Regions from separate parts of the Homo sapiens genome. Here all the other regions are linked to region 2. The links are contacts of gene promoters, found by promoter capture Hi-C in human tissues and cell types (Jung and others, 2019). All regions are on one chromosome and are shown on one strand. Each heading gives the region's core, a stretch centred on a gene start or on the middle of the fragment in contact. The rest is flanking DNA. Distances are from core to core; before and after follow the strand shown.

Region 1 (4,103 bases), core at 731-3,230, 290 kb after region 2:
AACCTCAAACTCTCACTGTTAGGAATCAGGTCAAACTCAGTTTAGTTCTTTTATCTTTAGCTGGGCTGCTTTGAGTCTATACTGAGCATGCATGGATCAAGGATCAGCCAAAGATCTGGGACTTTTCTCTGACTCTTTCTGGGTTTTCCCTCTCTCTCCAGTGGCTGTGGTTTTCCTGACTCTGTCTCTGATGCATCAGGCCAGTAGACTGCAGGTTTTCTTTGGAGTTGTAGCTTCCATACGTGGTGTCAACTGTACCTAACAGTTAGGCTAAAAGCTGAAAATTGGGAAACACATCATTCCCATCTTCCAAATTTCAATTCCCCTCCAGAATCTTCCAGGTCTTTTTTCTTCCTATCCCACTCTTAAGTGCTTTCAGGAAGTTATTTTCTAAATGTAGTTGTACCTACAAGAAAGTTGGCATGATAGGAGCTCATTCAACTTTTTTTGGAAGCATAACTCCCCAGCTTTTTAAGTTCCTGGTAATTCAGATAAATTACCCCCTACCTTACACAAATCAGCAAAGTTGATGGCTTAGAGAGAAAAATAAAACTAAACACCTGCAGTCTTAGTTTCCTCTCTTCCCCTGGATTAATACTGGTTTTTTGATGTCTCTGTTTACAGCATGCCACCCTGGTTTTTACGGGCCAGATTGTAAGCTTAGGTGCAGCTGCAACAATGGGGAGATGTGTGATCGCTTCCAAGGATGTCTCTGCTCTCCAGGATGGCAGGGGCTCCAGTGTGAGAGAGAAGGTAAAGCAAGGTAACACTGTAGTCAGGGCCATGTTCAGCATGTCTGAACTGAGCTTTGGTAGTGTAATTCTTGTGCCGGCATTCTAAGATCCTCAAGCCTCTTTTGTTTCCATCCAGAAGTTGGGAATAGTTTATCCTAAATCCTAAAGCACAGCATTTTAATTCTGCTCTACTGACCCTAATAGTAGGCTTTATTTGTCTTTGCACTAGGCATAAACCACGTGCTCTTTGTAGCAGCTTAAGTGATGACTGGCCAGCTGAGAGCTCTCCTACCTTTTCTGCTCCCTTCTCTAGGACCAACCTTTTCCCTGGACATGCGTAACAGAGAAAGAGCAATTTGGGATGGATTTAGACAGGGGATATTTTTAAAGCAATAGAAAGAATAAAACAAATAGAAAAGATTATGCTCAAAATGAAATTTTATGTCATTCTAGTTCAGAAGTTACTCTTCAGCAGGAGTCAGCAAACTTTAACCCACAGACTAAATCCAGCCCACTATCTTTTTTTAAACAGCTTTATAGAGATACATTTTTTATATTATAATGTTCAACTTTTTAAAATGTAAATTCAGTGGTTTTTAGTATATTTACAGAGCTATGCCATCATTGCCATAATCTAATTTTACAACATATTCATCATACCAAAACAAACCTTGTACCCATTAATAGAAACTTCCATTTTCCAATCATCCTAATTTCTGACAACCATTTATTTGCAGTTGACCTTAAACAACATGGGGGCTAGGGGTACTGACCCTTCTCGCAGTAGAAAATCTACATATAATTTTTGACTCTCCAAAGACTTAACTACTAATAGCCTTCTGTTGACGAGAAGCCTTACCAATAACATAGTCAATTAACACAGAGACTAGTATCTGTATATATTTTATGCCTTCATGACATACCTTTTTCTTAATTTTTTTGGTATTTCTAGGCTACACAGTTTGTCTGTGAGTTTTTTCAAATTATCCTAAATCTCCAAAAAATTTTCCAATATATTTATTGAAAAAAATCCACATGTCAGTGGACCCATGCAGTTGAAGCCTGTATTGTTCAAGGGTCAACCATATCTTCTGTCTCTGTAGATTGCCTGTTCTTGACATTTTATATGCTGTAAACAAGATTGTATAATACGTCGTCATTTGTGACTAGCTTCATTTGCCACACCTTTTTTGAGGTTTATCTATGTTGTGGCATGTATCAGTACTTCATTCCTTTTTTATTTCTCACCATCTGTTATTATAAAGAAAAAAATTTTGGATCACAGCCACCTCCATTCATTTATAGTATGTCGTCTGTGGCTGCTTTTGTACTACAAGGGCAGAAAACATGGCTTGCAAAGCTGACTGTATTTGCTCTCTTTACAGAAAATGTTTGCTATCCACTGTCGTAGAATATACTTTTTAAAATTAAAAGAAGCAGACATATGTATTTTCAAACTTAATAAATATGTATTGCTTTTTCAATCATATAAATATAAATGCCATTGAAATAAATACATATCCAGTGAAATCTACACTCACAATAATACAGCTATGGCCTTTTTTTCTGTTACTTTTGGAAATCAGAACAAATATTGGGAGTGGGGGTGGGATGCCAGTAAGTGTTTTCTCAAAGTCCTTAAACTTTATATTTTTTCTTCTTTTGCCAAGCCTGGACTTTACTACAGGGCAGGAATCAGGGAGTGGTTAGAAAGGGAAGGAAATGCCATGGGGCTACTAGGGGATTGTATTGAACGTGGGCAGCTAACAAGTTTAAGGATTTGAATTTTGTGCTTTGTTCCTTCCCGTCTGTTCCCTTCTGCTGATGCTGCAAAAGGAGTGCATTCTGATGGGAGAATCTAAGACAGGTTAACCAGGGTGTCACTAGGGCTTTCAGAGAGTAGCTCCCTTCCCAGATTCCACTTTAGCCCAGCACATCCACCTTCACCCCCACCCAGCTTCAGAAAATACAAGGGGACGATGAAGGAAAGAAATGCTTTAAAAGTGTCAAAACATGTTTTTCAATTCCTATTCAAATAGCTACTTAGGCTGAAAAACTTGGCACGTTTTCCATAATCTTTCCAAGTTTACAGATATATCAAGGAATAACCTTGTAAGTATTAGACCTCTTTCCCTTCTCCTCCACACCTTTACCCATTTCATTCTAGGCCTGAGAAGTAGGATATCAGTATAAAATATCATTATTGACCCCGCCTCTTCCCACCACCGATAAGAAACAGTCTGTAGTTACTGCTGCTCTGAGGGCACCTCTATCGCCTACATTGTTTACTGAGTGTTGGACAATTTTCAAACATGTCTCACATTCAATTACAAATAGTCCACAGTTCCCTGAGTCCCTATGGTTCAGAATAAAATTGGTATATTTCAGGGTTATTCATTCTCTACTGTGTAGATGTTAGGCAAGAAATCCTGACACCATTACCTTTATTGACACTACAGACATTTTTCCTTCTTTCAATATTGGCAGCAACATTTTTGATTTGGCTGTTGAGTGGATACTGATTTGGGGAAGTTATATTTCACTTCTTTGATGTACTTCTTTTGTGAGCAACTTTATTCACCTTTTCCTCTTAGTTATCTGCTATTTGCAGACTTCCCAATGAATGAGACATCTCTCGTATATCTAAACTGAGGTCAATGCTGTTGAACAGCAATACCATGGGGTTATTTGATGAGTGGAGGAAGAACTAGTTTTTTGTTTGTTGTATTTTTGTAATCATTCATGTAAAAAGAAAGAGGGGGATTGAACAGCAAAGTCTAGGGGAGATATGGCCATGATAATCATTTTAATATTGAGACTGTTCCTCCCTGGTCCATGAAAGGAGCACAGCCTCATGGCAAAGAGCGTGGACTCTGGATTTATAAAGATCTGAGTCTGAATCTGGGCTGTGAGCCTCTGTCTCCTCATCCATAAAATGGGAGACCACAATATCATCCACATCACAGGTGTCTTATGTGATGACAAAACAGTAAAATATTTGCAAAGTTCTTGCCCGGTGCATGACTTACTAAAGTAGCTATTTTTATTATTACTACTGCTGCTGGCTCTGTTAAATATTAGATTTCACAGTGCTGTTTTCTTCCTTCAGGCATACAGAGGATGACCCCAAAGATAGTGGATTTGCCAGATCATATAGAAGTAAACAGTGGTAAATTTAATCCCATTTGCAAAGCTTCTGGCTGGCCGCTACCTACTAATGAAGAAATGACCCTGGTGAAGCCGGATGGGACAGTGCTCCATGTAAGAGCCATTCTTAATTTGCCCTTCTTAAAGCATGAGATGCTTCAGTGTAGTAATCACCCCACTAAATGATAGATACCATTCAGTGCTTTTATCCTCCTAGGCTAG
Region 2 (3,874 bases), core at 1,226-3,725:
TGCCACTGCACTCCAGCCTGGGCGACACAGTGAGAGCCTATCTCAAAAAAAGAAAAAAAAAAAGGAAACTATTTAAAATAAGAATGGTAATATCCAAAACTGAATCTAGAAGGGGTGGGAAAACTGAATAGATCTATATTAAATAATTTTTTTAAAGAGTGTCTTAAAAAATCACTCTAAAAAACTCCACTAGACCCAGATACTTCTGACAAATATTTGAGAAGAAAATATAAACCATTCTAGAACACACCAAAAAAACACAAAGCTTCCTAATTCAATCCATTACAAAAATAAAAACTACAGTCTGATCTAATTTAGAAACATATACATAAAAGTTGGCCGGGCACGGTGGCTCACGCCTGTAATCCCAGCACTTTGGGAGGCCGAGACGGGTGGATCACGAGGTCAGGAGATCAAGACCATCCTGGCTAACACGGTGAAACCCCGTCTCTACTGAAAATACAAAAAATTAGCTGGGCGTCGTGGCGGGCGCCTGCAGTCCCAGCTACTCGGGAGGCTGAGGCAGGGGAATGGCCTGAACCCGGGAGGCGGAGCTTGCAGTGAGCCGGGATCACGCCACTGCACTCCGGCCTGGGCAACAGAGCGAGACTCCGTCTCAAAAAAAACAAAAAAAAAGAAACACATACATGAAAGTAAAAATACTGAATTCCAGCCAAGTACAACAAACTCAACAAACCAAACAGCACTTGTCCCAAGACTCCAAAGACTGTTCAACATCAACTAACTTATCAACAAATTACATTATCTGACTAAAGGAGAAAAAGTATGTGATCATCTCAACAGAATGCCAGAAAACCACCTGATAAAATCTCTACATAAACTGTTTCTACTCTACCAAAGAGAATAATGAGCAGAGGATATGTACAGAAAATTACATAAGAAGAAATCAAATGGCAAATAAAAATATTAAAATGTTCAATCTCACTAATAAGGAAAATAAAAATTAAAACAAACTATTAATTTGACCCACTAGTCTGGCAATTTTTTTAAAAAATGCCATCAAAATGTCATCAAAAGCTAGTTAAGAATCTCAGAAATAGGTATTCTTATATATATACTGTTTGGACTATAAATCTGTAAAGTCTCATTTGGAAAGCATTTGGTGGCATTCATAAGTTTTTAATAGCATAAACTTTGACCCAGGAATTTCAGTTCTCACACTCTCTCCCAACATAACTCTTGTAGGAGATATATACATAAAGGTGTTTGTATTGTAGTCACAACAATACAAAAAAACCTGCACACCCAAATATCAGAAAAATATAATACAATACCAGGCAGTCAGTAAAAATAACAAACCACGTATATAAAGAAGCCTATCACAACAATGCAGGTATTCAACAGCGGGAATAACACAATACAGCTTAAGTGTAGGAACTTAAAAACACGTATCTCACGAGGAGTGATTAAAAGAGGCCGCGTATCAAAATACTAATGGAGGGGCAAGAAAAGGGACTTGACGCTTTCCCTTTATTTCCTCATTGAATGAATTTAAAGTACCTATTCATTCATTTGTTTTCAAACAAATTATGAACTTTTTTAAAACGGCGTTCTCTTGGCAGACTGGTGGCGTATAAAGAACATGGCTTTTGTAGTCAGATATTTGGATTCAAACCTAGGAGCTATTAACAAACTCTGTGACCGTGGGTAAAGTTTAACTTCTTTGGGCCTCAATTTTCTTATCTCTAATGCGGAGTTAACCATATCTACGAAAAGGTGAAGACGAAGGGAGAAGTGTTTGGCTCGCAAGGGAAATGAAGGCTAGCTTCCAACTCGTATTCTTCCGGCAGAGTGAAACCATAGGAGTGGAAGGAGCCAAGAGTTTAAAAAATAAATTAAAAAAAAAGTGATCAGGAAATCCAGAAACTTGAAGTTCAAGATTCAAGACACGGATGGGAGTGTGGGGCTCACCAGGACTTAGGTAGGAACATGAACCTCAAGGACGGACGACCTTGAGATTGCCGCGCTAGCAGTGAGCTCCAGCCTGCGCCCCATCCCTCTGGAAGCCCGACTTCTTCCGAAAAAGCAGCAGCTCCAGGAAGCGGCCAGAGGGGCGCGCACGCACCTGCTGCAAGGAGCCCGAGACGCTGGAAGAGTCGGTACTCCTCCGCTTCCGGCGCTCGCTGCGCTCCACGCTGCTCCCGCCCCAACAGCTGCCGCCGCTCCCACCGCCGGTGACACTTCCACTAAAATTGGCGTTCCCACAGCAGCTGACGCTCCCGCAGCCCCCGGCGCTCCCGCAGCCGCTAGTGCTTCCACTGCTGCCGCTGGCCAACGCGGGTACGATGTCCGGGGCCGCGAGCGCTGCGGCCGCCTCCTGACTGCTACGTTTGCGCCGTTTCTCCCGGGAGGACTTTTTCCCCGTCATGATCCCTCTGCTGCAACCATCGGAGGAAAGTCCGCTGTCTCTGGTGCGACCGAAGCCCGACTCCTGCGGCCGTGGGCGGCAGGCACTGGCGTCGCAGGTTATGCGTCACTTCCGGCCGTGGCACAGAACGTGGTGAAGCGTTATGGGCCGGGGTGGCAGGGGGGTTGCCATAACCAGTTGCGCTTCCCCCTCCGGTCGCGGAGGTCGATTTGAGTGTGTAGCGGGTAGCCTGTCTAGTCAGAGTTTGTTTTGTTTTGTTTTTATATCTCTACAAAGGATAGAAGGTGGAACTTACGTCCTTTTAACTTCAAAACTTTTTATTGTTAGTGTTTTGTCTGTTTACAATAAGGTTGAAGTATAGTTGCTGATTCTCCATTTCCGTTTACCTCCAAATCTTAAGATATTAACAACGCTATGACAATAAAGAGAATAGGGAAAAGTTGTTCCATCTCATTTTCCTCATCACCTGGGCAAATTAGGTATTTCTTGCGTAGAGTCTGACATGGACAAGTAGAGCTTGAGTTCGTTTTTGAAAATTGAGAATGGGTCAAAGCTTTATGAGATTTTATGGGTGGATGTAATCTAAATAGAAGGCAGATTTTAAGACAAGGGAGCTAGAACACTTAAAACGTGAACCAAGGTCTTTGTCGTTTCAGCAGGGGCCTTTAGCCACTGAGGGAAAAAGGTAGAGCCTGGGGCAAAGCTAGCTGGGTGGTAGTAATTCTGTGCCTTTCCCTGGGGTAAGAAGCAATTAAAGAAGCTTCCCTTCTCTTTGTCTCCTATTTGTCTCAGTCATTCAACAACTACTTAAATGCCTAAAACCAGCCTAGGGTTAATAAATAGGGACACTTCCAGCCCTAGGAAAACTGTCTTCCCCCAGGCCCCACTCTTAAATTGGCCTTGTAAGGTAAATCCTGGGGCTGAGCCCACTGTGTTCCCAGGAGTTCCGTTAAGTATCACACTCATTGGAGTCATACCTGAAAGGATTGAGAGTGTTGTGTTCACAGATAGGAAAAACACATAAAATTAATAACATGTTACATTTATAAACCTGTTATGAATTGTGTCCCTGAAACCATCATAATTTTAATAAAACTAAATTGCTAGATTTTTTCTTTTTTCTTTTTTTTTTTTTTGAGACGGAGTTTCACTCTCGTTGCCCAGGCTGGAGTGCAATGGCACAATCTCGGCTCACTGCAACCTCCGCCTCCCGGGTTCAAGCATTTCTCCTGCCTCAGCCTCCTGAGTAGCTGGGACTACAGGCATGCGCCACCATGCAGGGCTAATTTTGTATTTTTAGTAGACAAGGGGTTTCTCCATGTTGGTCAGGCTGGTCTCGAACTCCCGACCTCAGGTGATCCACCCGCCTCAGCCTCCCAAAGTGCTGGGATTACAGGCGTGAGCCATCGTGCCCTGCCAAATTGCTGGATTTGTGACAAAAGATAAGCTTTTAGTAGAAGCATAGCTAAACGTTAACCAACTTTT
Region 3 (4,026 bases), core at 1,162-3,661, 310 kb after region 2:
TGTAAGCACTATATAAATGCCAGCCCTCAGAAGCTTTCCATTCTTCCCAGCATCAAGAATAGTAAGTACAGGTTTGTGGAATAACAGAATTTCTAAGGCCTTCATTTAGTGTCAAGATGACAGATAGATGATATGTGTTGCCATTTCTCTGTCTGTGCCACTCTTTCAAGTCTGCGTGGAGTCCAGTAGCCACTACCAATTGATTGGGGTACCATATGAGAAAACATTTGTTTGCCTTATATGAGCTGACATGAACTCTATCTCAAAAGCATAATGATCTAGGCCATGGTAGTATATCTTAAGTGAATCTTTTTTCTTTTTAATTTCTAGTTCTTCCTCCTCAACCAGAAAACATCAAGATTTCCAACATTACACACTCCTCAGCTGTGATTTCTTGGACAATATTGGATGGCTATTCTATTTCTTCTATTACTATCCGTTACAAGGTTCAAGGCAAGAATGAAGACCAGCACGTTGATGTGAAGATAAAGAATGCCACCATCACTCAGTATCAGCTCAAGGGCCTAGAGCCTGAAACAGCATACCAGGTGGACATTTTTGCAGAGAACAACATAGGGTCAAGCAACCCAGCCTTTTCTCATGAACTGGTGACCCTCCCAGAATCTCAAGGTTGGTTGAATGGACAAGTATTTACATAGGATTACCGTGCAGCCCTATAGGCAGCTGGTTTATCAGGACAGGCCTGTGAGATGAAAGCCTATGAAAAGTCGGTGGTTGAATGGACAGGCATTTACAGAGAGGTCCTTAATATCAAAATGCCTCTGAGAAGGATCCCTGTTGGTCCGTTTTCTATTATTGAACCTTAGAATAGATCAGTCTATCAGCATACCCCATCCAGCAATCTAAGAAGAAAGCTCTGAGGAATATGAATTTTAATTCCTAGGAGAAAGAAGAATGTGGGAGCTGCTTATAGAAGGCAAGCTATGCAAGAGCTCCAGTAGGAGGCTCCAAGAACCATGCTCCATTCTTCCTCAAACACTCCTTTTTTTAGCTTGGATGACATTGTGCAATTCTGAGTCTTCTTCTACTTTACTGATGCAGGTTATTCCATGTCCACCACTAACCCCAACCCCAGGAAAAGTATGTGATTTGAGCTAGATAGAGATCCTCTCTGGATGCCATACTGTGCCCACCATTTGTGATTGATAAAGTCTGTTGAGTGTAATTAAGTGAACAAGGGTCCCATGTGGGTGGAGCTGCAGCAGGAGGATTGACTTCAAGTCTGTGCAGAGGCACCTCCCGGCTCTCTGTGTTGTGTACAATGTGTGCCAGAGAATGTAGATGGAGGCACGTTAGAGGCAAGTTTTGAAAATTTATGATTTGGATTACAGTCTGTTTTTAAAGAAAATACTATAACTAAATCTGAAAACTTCTTGGTTCTCTTGGAGGATTACCTAGACCTTAAGAAACAAAATCAAACAAGTCGCTTTAACAGTGCTGATTCTTTGGAACATTTTTGAAATGCTCAAGGAATGAAGAGTCTGCCAAATATAGAAAATCATGGTTTTCAGGTCACACTCTTAGTGAATGCCCCATTTTTGTAATTACTTGTGTTTTGGCGAAATGTAACTTCCTAAATTCAAGCTATACATAAAATACCAAGAGAAAACTTTTAAAACAAGACAAAACCAAAAGTTTCTCACCATTCTAGACATCTCTGTATCTGTACATATATAGAGATAGAAGAAAAGATAAATGAGAAGAGAGGGATACTTTTAAGAGGACGAGATCATGTTCTATGTGCTATTGCTAATAAAAATATATCGAGTTTAATTTTATTTAAATAAGGAAAAGAAATAGATTTGACCATAGTCTTTAATAGTTTATTTTGACCTGAGCCCTAAATTTAATTTTTCCTCTGTCTTTTCCTGTCTTCCTCCCTCCCTCTCTCTCTTCTTCTATTGGGTATCATTAGGTTTTCTTCATTAACTCATTAAAACAAGACAAACAAAACAAAATACCTGATAGACTGTAAGCTCTTAGCATCATTGAACTTTAAAGCATTTCTAGGTGGGGAAATTGAGGTTTAGGGAGGTTTAGTCACTCTCTCAAAGTTATACCTGTAGTAATTCTCCCTATTATTCAACATTGTTCATTTGCTTGGGATTCTACTTGGAAATAAAAGTTGAACAAATGACAACTAATGATTAGCATATTGCTAATTGTAACAGCACTTTTGCATGTTTTTTTTTTTTTTAATCTTATTACAACCCTGTGAGTCAGACTCATCTCCACTGAGTTTGGAATATAAATGAGTAGCCCGAGGTCATATAGTGGTTAGGTGGCAGGGTTAAGGCTGCTGTTAAGTTCCCATTACACTGTGTCTTCTCCCACATACGGTGTGGGTCTGTTTCTCTATGTAAACTAAACTACCTGCTTCACCTCTGTCTTCCTGCACAGCACCAGCGGACCTCGGAGGGGGGAAGATGCTGCTTATAGCCATCCTTGGCTCTGCTGGAATGACCTGCCTGACTGTGCTGTTGGCCTTTCTGATCATATTGCAATTGAAGAGGGCAAATGTGCAAAGGAGAATGGCCCAAGCCTTCCAAAACGTGGTAGTGTCTCATCTTCCTACTAGCTAATAAGGGCAAGTCCAAGTACAGGCAGAACCTTCACTTTAAAGATATGGACCAGGAAATTTACTTATAAAGTAAATATTTCCCTTAGGCAAGCCTCATCTTCTCTTTGGCTTTCATTATGAAATGGGAGATAAAAAGTATGACTTTTTAATTTCTTATCCAAACCAGAACAATTTTGAGAGTGAAAAGGGTGCTCTTAGTAAATTATGCAGGAAACTAGGTCTGCCCCTGCCTGCTGAAATGAGACATATGGTCATCCTAGTAGTAAGTCCCCAGAGATGATATCTTGCAACAGAATAAATTGAACATTTTTGGTAAGGAAGGACAGAGGGTAACCAGACCTCAGTGAGATAGGTAATGACGTAATATATTAGACAAGTTTTCCTCACATTTGCCTATTTCCAGTTCCCATTTCTTTCTAGTAAGTCCCTCAATCTTATCACCCCTCGTATGTGTAAGAATTGTATATACCTGTGTGTGTCTTCCATTCCTGTGTACCCTCAGTCTGAAGTCAGAGTTCCTGGCACTTGGTACTGCCTCATTTTTTTTTTCATCTAGGAATTCTAACCAGTAGCAAAGGCCTATAAAAATCACACTTTACCAAGAGGCATCTTATTTGAGTTCTTTTGGTATACTAAAGCCTGAAAATGTATCTAGTTTGTGGGTTCAGGCCCTGTAAAATTAATTTGAACCAGACTTTATCAATTCTGTATATAATGCATTGAGTGCAATGATTCAAATGAGGTGTACCCCATGTGCATGAGTCCCCGAGTTTCCCTTCCACGGAGGACAAGAGGAACTTCACTATCTGACTCCATGCCAGAGCTGGCTCAATTCAGGCTGTCGCTGGAGAAGAAGGGCCAGCAAGGGGGTTGGGAGTGCTGAGCCTGTCAAAATACCGGTGCTTTTTCATGGTAGCACCAGCAGCTATTTGAATTCAGGAGAAAGAGATACTGTGTTGGGTTTGGCTCTAAGCTTCAATCATCTTGTGGCCAGAGTGGACTTAGAGATTCTAAGCCTTACTACGAGAGAGAAAGAGTGTGCACTAAAAATAGAGTAGGATCAAGATAATGCTAAGAAAGCTCTCACTGAGGCGCATCCTGTGGCTGCCCCACATAGGCTCTCCAAGTTAGTTTCCAAACCAGAACTGAACGCTTGCTCATTTCACAACACTGTAGGGAACTCACGTACAACTAACGCAAGGATGGCAAACACATGGAATATGTACTGTTACTCCTTCCTCCGTCACCCTTTACAGACATTGCTAATCAACAGGCTTTTCTGGGGAGGCCCAGAATTGTGCCCGTGCAGCCCTGTGGGCAGCTGGTTTATCAGGGCAGTCCTGTGTGATGAAAACCTATTTCCCTTTCCAGTCTAGAATTAAATACAGTATTTCTTTTTTCATCTGGTGTGGATGCCAACCAGA

What was found. The method cuts DNA at HindIII sites, captures the fragments that hold promoters and counts their contacts. A contact is called where the count stands out against the background at its distance.
Region 1: a fragment that was not itself captured here is called in contact with the fragment with the promoter of CAAP1 in region 2 in 1 of the 25 tissues and cell types used here (aorta).
Region 3: a contact is called between a fragment that was not itself captured here and the fragment with the promoter of CAAP1 in region 2, in 1 of the 25 tissues and cell types used here (aorta).

The regions. Positions count from the first base shown.
Region 1 is chr9:27,179,616-27,183,718 of GRCh38, forward strand. TEK (TEK receptor tyrosine kinase) reads left to right here. Exons shown (of 23, transcript NM_000459.5): 7 at 625-753; 8 at 3,844-3,995. Among named protein-coding and RNA genes, the nearest start is that of TEK, 72 kb to the left of the region's middle. The HindIII fragment of the contact is 4,280 bases long and covers 1-4,103 here.
Region 2 is chr9:26,890,327-26,894,200 of GRCh38, forward strand. It overlaps CAAP1 (caspase activity and apoptosis inhibitor 1), which reads right to left and starts at 2,476. Exons shown (of 6, transcript NM_024828.4): 1 at 2,087-2,476. The coding sequence starts at 2,389. RefSeq lists enhancers at 1,875-2,454, 2,026-2,205, 2,286-2,505, 2,455-3,034, 2,636-2,705. The HindIII fragment of the contact is 6,456 bases long and covers 1-3,492 here.
Region 3 is chr9:27,202,490-27,206,515 of GRCh38, forward strand. It overlaps TEK (TEK receptor tyrosine kinase), which reads left to right. Exons shown (of 23, transcript NM_000459.5): 13 at 331-630; 14 at 2,422-2,576. Among named protein-coding and RNA genes, the nearest start is that of EQTN, 93 kb to the right of the region's middle. The HindIII fragment of the contact is 5,966 bases long and covers 1-4,026 here.